Linked DNA regions of Homo sapiens: region 1 is linked to region 2. The links are contacts of gene promoters, found by promoter capture Hi-C in blood cells and fetal thymus (Javierre and others, 2016). All regions are on one chromosome and are shown on one strand. The core of a region is centred on a gene start or on the middle of the fragment in contact, and the rest is flanking DNA. Distances in the headings are between cores, read along the strand shown. Region 1 overlaps SFXN2 (sideroflexin 2). Region 2 holds the start of INA (internexin neuronal intermediate filament protein alpha).

Region 1 (3,651 bases), core at 501-3,000, 550 kb before region 2:
GTTCTCTTCCCCCAACAGAAAGCGCCGCCCTTGGTGGGCCGCTGGGTGCCCTTTGCCGCTGTGGCTGCGGCTAACTGTGTCAATATCCCCATGATGCGACAGCAGTGAGTAAAGGCCCCTTTTTCTCCCTACAAACCACAAGATTAGCAGAAAAGGGGCAAGAAACCAAAGCAGTGGGTGGCTTCTGGGGACTGCGGTGGGCATGGGGAGGGCTGCTGGGCTGAGCCTCTGAAGGGCCCTGGGATTGGCAGCTCCCATGGTGATGGCCCCGGGAGTGGTGGGTGACTTTGGGTTAGGCCGTGTGTTGAGTCCCGTGGGAGTCCTCTCCTGGGTGATGTGGGATGGGAAAGACAGGGTGGACCTGTGGAGTTTTACACTGGATCATGTCCTTTTGGACCTGTGTTAAAATTGTGAACTCCTCCTACTTCCCAAGCCCTGGGGATGGCATACAGAATGAAATGTAGCAGGCTGAGGTGTCTAAAGATAGCATAGAACCCAGAAGCTTTGAAAGAAGCCAGAGGAGTAGACAGAAGTTTTCCAGGCACCCAACTCTAAGCTTTTCAGGAGAAAAGGTAAAGGAGAAACTCATTGTGTCTCACAGTTCTTATTTCTTGACTAGAGAAATCTCTGTTATGAGGTTTTAATGATGTAATATATGTAAAGCACTCAAAATAGCACCTGGAACATAAGAGATGCTACATAAGTGTTCACTGTTATTTCTACCATTGTCATCATCATCAATATCTACAAGCCACATTTTCTTGGGACTACCAACAAATGGAAAATGTTCACACTAGTCTTTGTAGAGGAAGCACTACCAGAATAGTTGTGCACACATGCTGCTCCATTCATCTTTCCTTCCCCATCCAGTGGCCCTTTCCTAACAGGAGAATGAGTCCCTGCCACCTACCGGGGCTTGAGTTGAGTGCTGTCAAGAACTGGCCTGAGAAGAACAGCTGGGGTGGGCTGGGTGCGGTGGCTCACGCCTGTAATCCCAGCACTTTGGGATGCTGAGGCAGGAGGATCACCTGAGGCCAGGAGTTTGAGACCAGCCTGGCCAACATGGCAAAACCCCATCTCTACTAAAAATACAAAAATTAGGGCCAGGCGTGGTAGCTCACGCCTGTAATCCCAGCACTTTGGGAGGCTGAGGTGGGCGGATCACGAGGTCAGGAGATCGAGACCATCCTGGCTAACACGGTGAAACCCCGTCTCTACTAAAAAATACAAAAAATTAGCCAGGTATGGTGGCGGGTGCCTGTAGTCCCGGCAACTTGGGAGGCTGAGGCAGGAGAATGTTGTGAACCCGGGAGGCGGAGCTTGTAGTGAGCCAAGATCGCACCACTGCACTCCAGCCTGGGTGACAGAGTGAGACTCCATCACAAAAAAAAAACCAAAAAACAAAAACAAAAATTAGCCGGGCATGGTGGCGCATGCCTGTAATTCTAGCTACTGGGGAGGTTGAGGCAGGAGAATCGCTTGAACCCAGGAGATGGAGGTTGCAGTGAGCCAAGATCATGCCACTACACTCCAGCCTGGGTGACAGAGTGCGATTGTCTCAAAAAAAAAAAAAAAAAAAAAAGGAATAGCTAGAGTAGCTACTGTTTGTGGAGTGATCACACTGTGTGTCAGGTGCTGGACCAAGTATTTCATAGCCATTATCTCATTTAATCCTTACCAGGTCCTGTAAAGTGGGTGCCAGGATGATCCCCATTTTGCAGATAAGCAAAACTGAGGCTTTGGGAGGGTTAAAGACTGTGCTCAAGGTCACACACATCCCCTGCAGTTTCAGGACTCAACCCAGACAGTCCGGGCCCAGGGCCACCGCTCTCAGCCACTGCCCTAGATCACTCCTAAGATACTGCTTATTGGAGTGCAGAAGGAAGGTCAAAGGCCCAGGCTACAGGAGGTGGCTTCCTGGAGCTTAAGTGGCCTGGCCTTGGTCCCCTGGCATGTCATGTGGCTGGCAGGCTTCCATCACCCCTTTCCCAAGTCCATTAACTCCTGTCTGTGTTTAGGGAGCTCATAAAGGGAATCTGCGTGAAGGACAGGAATGAAAATGAGATTGGTCATTCCCGGGTGAGCAGAGGCCTCCCTTTGGGGTGGGAGGAGGGAATTCCCTCTCATACCCTGTCCCCTCCTTAGTGGTCAGAGTAGGCACCAATATAGGATTGAGAAGCCTTTTCTGGCTCCATCCTCACTCCCTATCAAATTTTCCCCATGTTTCTCTGTTCAGAACAGGCCCCTTCTCTCTTTTCTCCATCATTTCTGGTCCATAAAAACCTGGCTAGGTGGGAGGGGATAAAGTGAGGTCACTCAGCAACTGGAGGGTCCTTCCCTTCCCCTTTACCATCTCAGACTTGGCCATGATGCTGACCCAGCCCCCTGGTGCAGCACATGTACACTGGATACATCATTTCTGACAACTTACTATTTTCTGCCCTCAGAGAGCTGCGGCCATAGGCATCACCCAAGTAGTTATTTCTCGGATCACCATGTCAGCTCCTGGGATGAGTAAGATGGGGAAGCCCTTCCATCCTGGGGAAGCCTGTGACACAGGGTGGAGGTCTCAGCCACACTCAGCTTTTGGGTGGGAGGTGGGGCCCACCTTCTACAGCCATGCTTCTCAAACTGCTTTGCTTGATTGCTGTAAGCCTAGAAGAACCACACTAGTTCCTAGAACATCAGTTCATCCAAGGTTTGGGGTAGAAAGTTATTTTCATTTTATTAATACTTGTCAAGCCCTTGTGTTTAATGTTAGACACAGTGTGGGGTGCTAGGGAGAGTGATAGAGAAAATAAATTCCCTGCTTTGGTTTGCTTCCAGCAGTGGGTGTATTGCAAAATTTGTTTGCACGAACGTACAAATACATTTTTGAGTTTTGAGAAGGTAGCTTTGGACCTAGCAGCACATGTTTTCCTGATATTGCAAGTGTGCAGGTTGAGAAGCTTGGGAAGCACTGTTCTGCCAGGACTTTGGGGAGAAAGTTTGGGGGTGGTCATGCCTACTTGCTCTTCTGTTCTGCCTAGTGGTAAGTATTTTCTGGAGCTTCTGCTGAAGGAGAGGGAACCACTTGGTTCCTGGTCTGACTTCAGAAGGAGTCCTGGGGAGAGCCTCCCAGCCCTCCCCTCAGCTTCTCCCTGGTCTCTTCCAGTCTTGCTGCCAGTCATCATGGAAAGGCTTGAGAAATTGCACTTCATGCAGGTATGTAGGGTTTGCTTTGGCATTTTCCCTGCCCAGAGTGCGTCCAGCCACATCTGTCCCTAGGGATACCTGACCTGCCCTCCCCCACCCATCCTTCCCTTTAGCTACCATGCTGTCATCTCACTCAAGCCCACACCAATCTCCACTGACCTCCTGTTTAGATATACCATGGCCAGTTTCCTTACCTGGTCTGCAGAGAACAAGGCCTTCTTTAAGGGCCAGGGGGTCCTTGCCTGTGGGTTTTTCTTTTTTCTTTTGAGATGGAGTCTCGCTCTGTCGCCCAGGCTGGAGTGCAGTGGCGCGATCTTGGCTCACTGCAAGCTCCGCTTCCTGGGTTCATGCCATTCTCCTGCCTCAGCCTCCCGAGCAGCTGGGACTACAGGTGCCTGCCACCACGCCCAGCTATTTTTTTTGTATTTTTAGTAGAGACGGGTTTTCACTGTGTTA
Region 2 (3,809 bases), core at 908-3,407:
TAAAACCTCCACCTCCCGAGTTCAAGCAATTCTCCTGCCTCAGCCTCCTGAGGAGCTGGGATTACAGGCCCGTGCCACCACACCCGGCTCATTTTTATATTTTTAATAGAGACAGGGTTTCACCATGTTGGTCAGGCTGGTCTCAAACTCCTCACCTCAAGTGATCCGCCCATCTCGGCCTCCCAAAGTGCTGGGATTACAGGTGTGAGCCACTGCACCCGGCCAACTCCGTCTCAGAAAAAAAAAAAAAAAAAAAAGAGTCTCACTGCACTAAGCAGAATTATGTAGTGAAGAGAGAATGTATGCTTGTCTTTGCTTGCTGGTGACCTTGTGCTGCACCCGCACCTCGGTGCCTTATCTATAAGATGGAGGTGAGGGCCACCTTGAAGCATGGTTCAGAGGTAAACCTATGCAAAAGTGCCAGCACAAGTACTGGCAGACAATCATTACTCAGCAGTGTTAGCAATCTTTTATTGTTCACCTTACCAGGTCTTTCTAAGCCCAAAGACCTCAGAATTGAGTCCCTCCAACTCAAGGCTTTGGTCTGTGATGAGGAACCAGAGGGGCAGGCTGTGGCAGGGCCTGACCATCTTCCATGACATCAAGCACAAAGCCAAGAGATATGCTCCAAAGTCCCATAAGATCCCTTTTCACCCTTCCTTTAGTGGCCTGTCCCAAGCATATTCCCCTTTCCCCATGAAGTAAAACTTATCCTAGAACTACGTCCTTGAAGATTCCAATATCAATAAAAGGCCCTCAGTCTGGAATTCTGGGATATAACTAAAAAGGTCTTCCTACTCCCTCTCCAAAGCCATATCCACATCCTGAATGATATTAGAAGCTTGCAAGTGGGTACATATTACAGACGCCACACTGACCCCTCCCAGCCTTCATCTTTTCAGATTCCATTCTTTGATTCTCACCCCCTGCCCCACCAACCCTACCATGTGGCAGAAGAGGCCGGCTCAGTCACCAGCACTCTCCCCCACTCCTGGAGTTTAATCTTTTTGCAGGGATCTCTTTTCTCCAAAAAGAGATCTGCACAGGGAGTGGCTCTCTGAAGCCAGTTGAGAACCTGCCCTGCTGGATTTACACAAACTGAAATCTCAAATGCCCACAGGGTCAGAGAGGTAAAGTAAATGAATTAAGAAGGGGGGCGTAATTCAGTGGAGAATGGCAGGGACTGTAGTGAACAGGAGAGCACACTTCTTATACAAATGGCAAGGGCAACTCACCTCTGCCACTGTGGGCATCCCAGCTCTTCCCATTTTCAGAAGAAGCCAGAAATCCAATTTCTTTACAGGTGAAATCTCCTGGTTTAAAAATGCTCCTTTCGAAATATTTTAAAATATAATGCTCTAAACACAAAAGTCTGCAGCCCCCTTTCCAGCAGCTTGTGGTCCTGGCCTGTGCCATGCTTTAGTGCCCTAACGATGAGCCCCAGCAATTCCCAGCGCCTCCTGCTTCTCCAAGTCTGGCCTCTTTTCCCCTCTGTACCGCCGCTTCTCCCCACTCTCCGCAGCTCGGGGTCACTTTCTTTACTGATCTCCCCTCTCTTCTGGGAGAGGCACTTGCTGAACATCTTTCCGCCCGGAGCCTCCCCAGGAGCTGCAGAGGGGCAGCTGGAGAGATGCTTTCTGACGTAGCATCTCCCACCTTTCTCCTTGGGGACCCTGAGGAAGGGGACAAGGGCTCGCTCTGCAGGTCCTCACTGTAACTGGAAAAACACGACCTCGCCCTCGGGAAGGCTTTCTGTGCGCCTCACCTCAGGATGAGGGTGGGTGTAGGGGACACCTCCCAGAAACCCCTAACCTCCCAGTCGGTTAAAGAAGAGGGGATAGGGTCAAGGGATGCGACAGAGCTGTGTGGTTTCCGGATGGGAAACCTCAGTCGTTTAGGCACCCCTCCGCTCGAGTCACTTCCGAAGCAGTCGATTCTTGGGGAGAAGCGCTGCGGAAAGGGGCGACTCCGATGCAGATGGCCCTGTCCCGGCGCCCCAGGTCGTCGCGCGCGCAGCTGCGGTAGTCACTGCGCCTCCCCGCCCCCACTCCTGGATGCCCCCCTTCCCTCTCCCGGCCAGACTCTGAGCAGGAGCTCCGCCCCCAGCGCGCCGCCCCAGCCCCGGCGCCTTAAAAGCCGGGCGCACCGCCCCGCCGCGCCCTGCCTGCCGCACCTCTCCTTTCTTCTGTAGCTCGCGTTGAAGCCGCACGTCCGGCCCCGATCCCGGCACCATGAGCTTCGGCTCGGAGCACTACCTGTGCTCCTCCTCCTCCTACCGCAAGGTGTTCGGGGATGGCTCTCGCCTGTCCGCCCGCCTCTCTGGGGCCGGCGGCGCGGGCGGCTTCCGCTCGCAGTCGCTGTCCCGCAGCAATGTGGCCTCCTCGGCCGCCTGCTCCTCGGCCTCGTCGCTCGGCCTCGGCCTGGCCTATCGCCGGCCGCCGGCGTCCGACGGGCTGGACCTGAGCCAGGCGGCGGCGCGCACCAACGAGTACAAGATCATCCGCACCAACGAGAAGGAGCAGCTGCAGGGCCTCAACGACCGCTTCGCCGTGTTCATCGAGAAGGTGCATCAGCTGGAGACGCAGAACCGCGCGTTGGAGGCCGAGCTGGCCGCGCTGCGACAGCGCCACGCTGAGCCGTCGCGCGTCGGCGAGCTCTTCCAGCGCGAGCTGCGCGACCTGCGCGCGCAGCTGGAGGAGGCCAGCTCGGCTCGCTCGCAGGCCCTGCTGGAGCGCGACGGGCTGGCGGAGGAGGTGCAGCGGCTGCGGGCGCGCTGCGAGGAGGAGAGCCGCGGACGCGAAGGCGCCGAGCGCGCCCTGAAGGCGCAGCAGCGCGACGTGGACGGCGCCACGCTGGCCCGCCTGGACCTGGAGAAGAAGGTGGAGTCGCTGCTGGACGAGCTGGCCTTCGTACGCCAGGTGCACGACGAGGAGGTAGCCGAGCTGCTGGCCACGCTGCAGGCGTCGTCGCAGGCCGCGGCCGAGGTGGACGTGACTGTGGCTAAACCAGACCTGACCTCGGCTCTGAGGGAGATCCGCGCCCAGTATGAGTCCCTGGCCGCTAAGAACCTGCAGTCCGCGGAAGAATGGTACAAGTCCAAGTTTGCCAACCTGAACGAGCAGGCGGCGCGCAGCACCGAGGCCATCCGGGCCAGCCGCGAGGAGATCCACGAGTATCGGCGCCAGCTGCAGGCGCGCACCATCGAGATCGAGGGCCTGCGCGGGGCCAACGAGTCCTTGGAGAGGCAGATCCTGGAGCTGGAGGAGCGGCACAGTGCCGAGGTAGCTGGCTACCAGGTAAGGGCCGGGGCTGGGCGTGGGGAGGGGTGCCCTGCCCTCTTCCGCGCGTACCCTCTTCCTCTGGTAAAACTGGGCCCCAGGACTTAAGGGGAGGGCAAAAGAGAGGAGAGAAGAGCCGCGGCTGGAGGCGCTGGTTAACAAAAAACCCTGGAGTCTTTAATGTTAATTTTAGGGAACGCCCCTCATTTATGTCCCTGCCCCAGCCCTTCAAACAAAGAAGCCCTTAAATTTATTTGAGGTTCGAAAACCCAACTCTGCCTGTCTGTCAGCAAGCGGGCCTACACACACCGGCGACCCGGAGAACAGTGCCCCACCCAAAGTAAGACTGAGCCCAACGGGGCAGGTTACGTGGGCGGTGCTGTCTCGGCTATCTGGCTTGTTTGGTTGACTTTGAAAAGCTTTCTGTGCGCCCTAGAAGTTATTTATGGAGTATGGTCTGCTTCAGGGCTGAAGGAAGAATGCGATCCTGAACTGGGAAGAGTCCTATCCCATTTTCTTGACTTTCGCGCT

What was found. Contacts are between HindIII fragments. The CHiCAGO score rates a contact against its expected background, and 5 or more counts as called.
Region 1: a contact is called between a fragment that was not itself captured here and the fragment with the promoter of INA in region 2, in 1 of 17 cell types (endothelial precursors). The highest score is 5.2, in endothelial precursors.

What each region holds. Positions count from the first base shown.
Region 1 is chr10:102,729,705-102,733,355 of GRCh38, forward strand. SFXN2 (sideroflexin 2) reads left to right here. Exons shown (of 12, transcript NM_178858.6): 6 at 19-104; 7 at 2,019-2,079; 8 at 2,448-2,514; 9 at 3,155-3,204. Among named protein-coding and RNA genes, the nearest start is that of WBP1L, 12 kb to the right of the region's middle. RefSeq lists an enhancer at 1-616. The HindIII fragment of the contact is 2,392 bases long and covers 555-2,946 here.
Region 2 is chr10:103,274,981-103,278,789 of GRCh38, forward strand. INA (internexin neuronal intermediate filament protein alpha) reads left to right here and starts at 2,158. Exons shown (of 3, transcript NM_032727.4): 1 at 2,158-3,296. The coding sequence starts at 2,232. RefSeq lists an enhancer at 2,573-3,177. The HindIII fragment of the contact is 2,856 bases long and covers 840-3,695 here.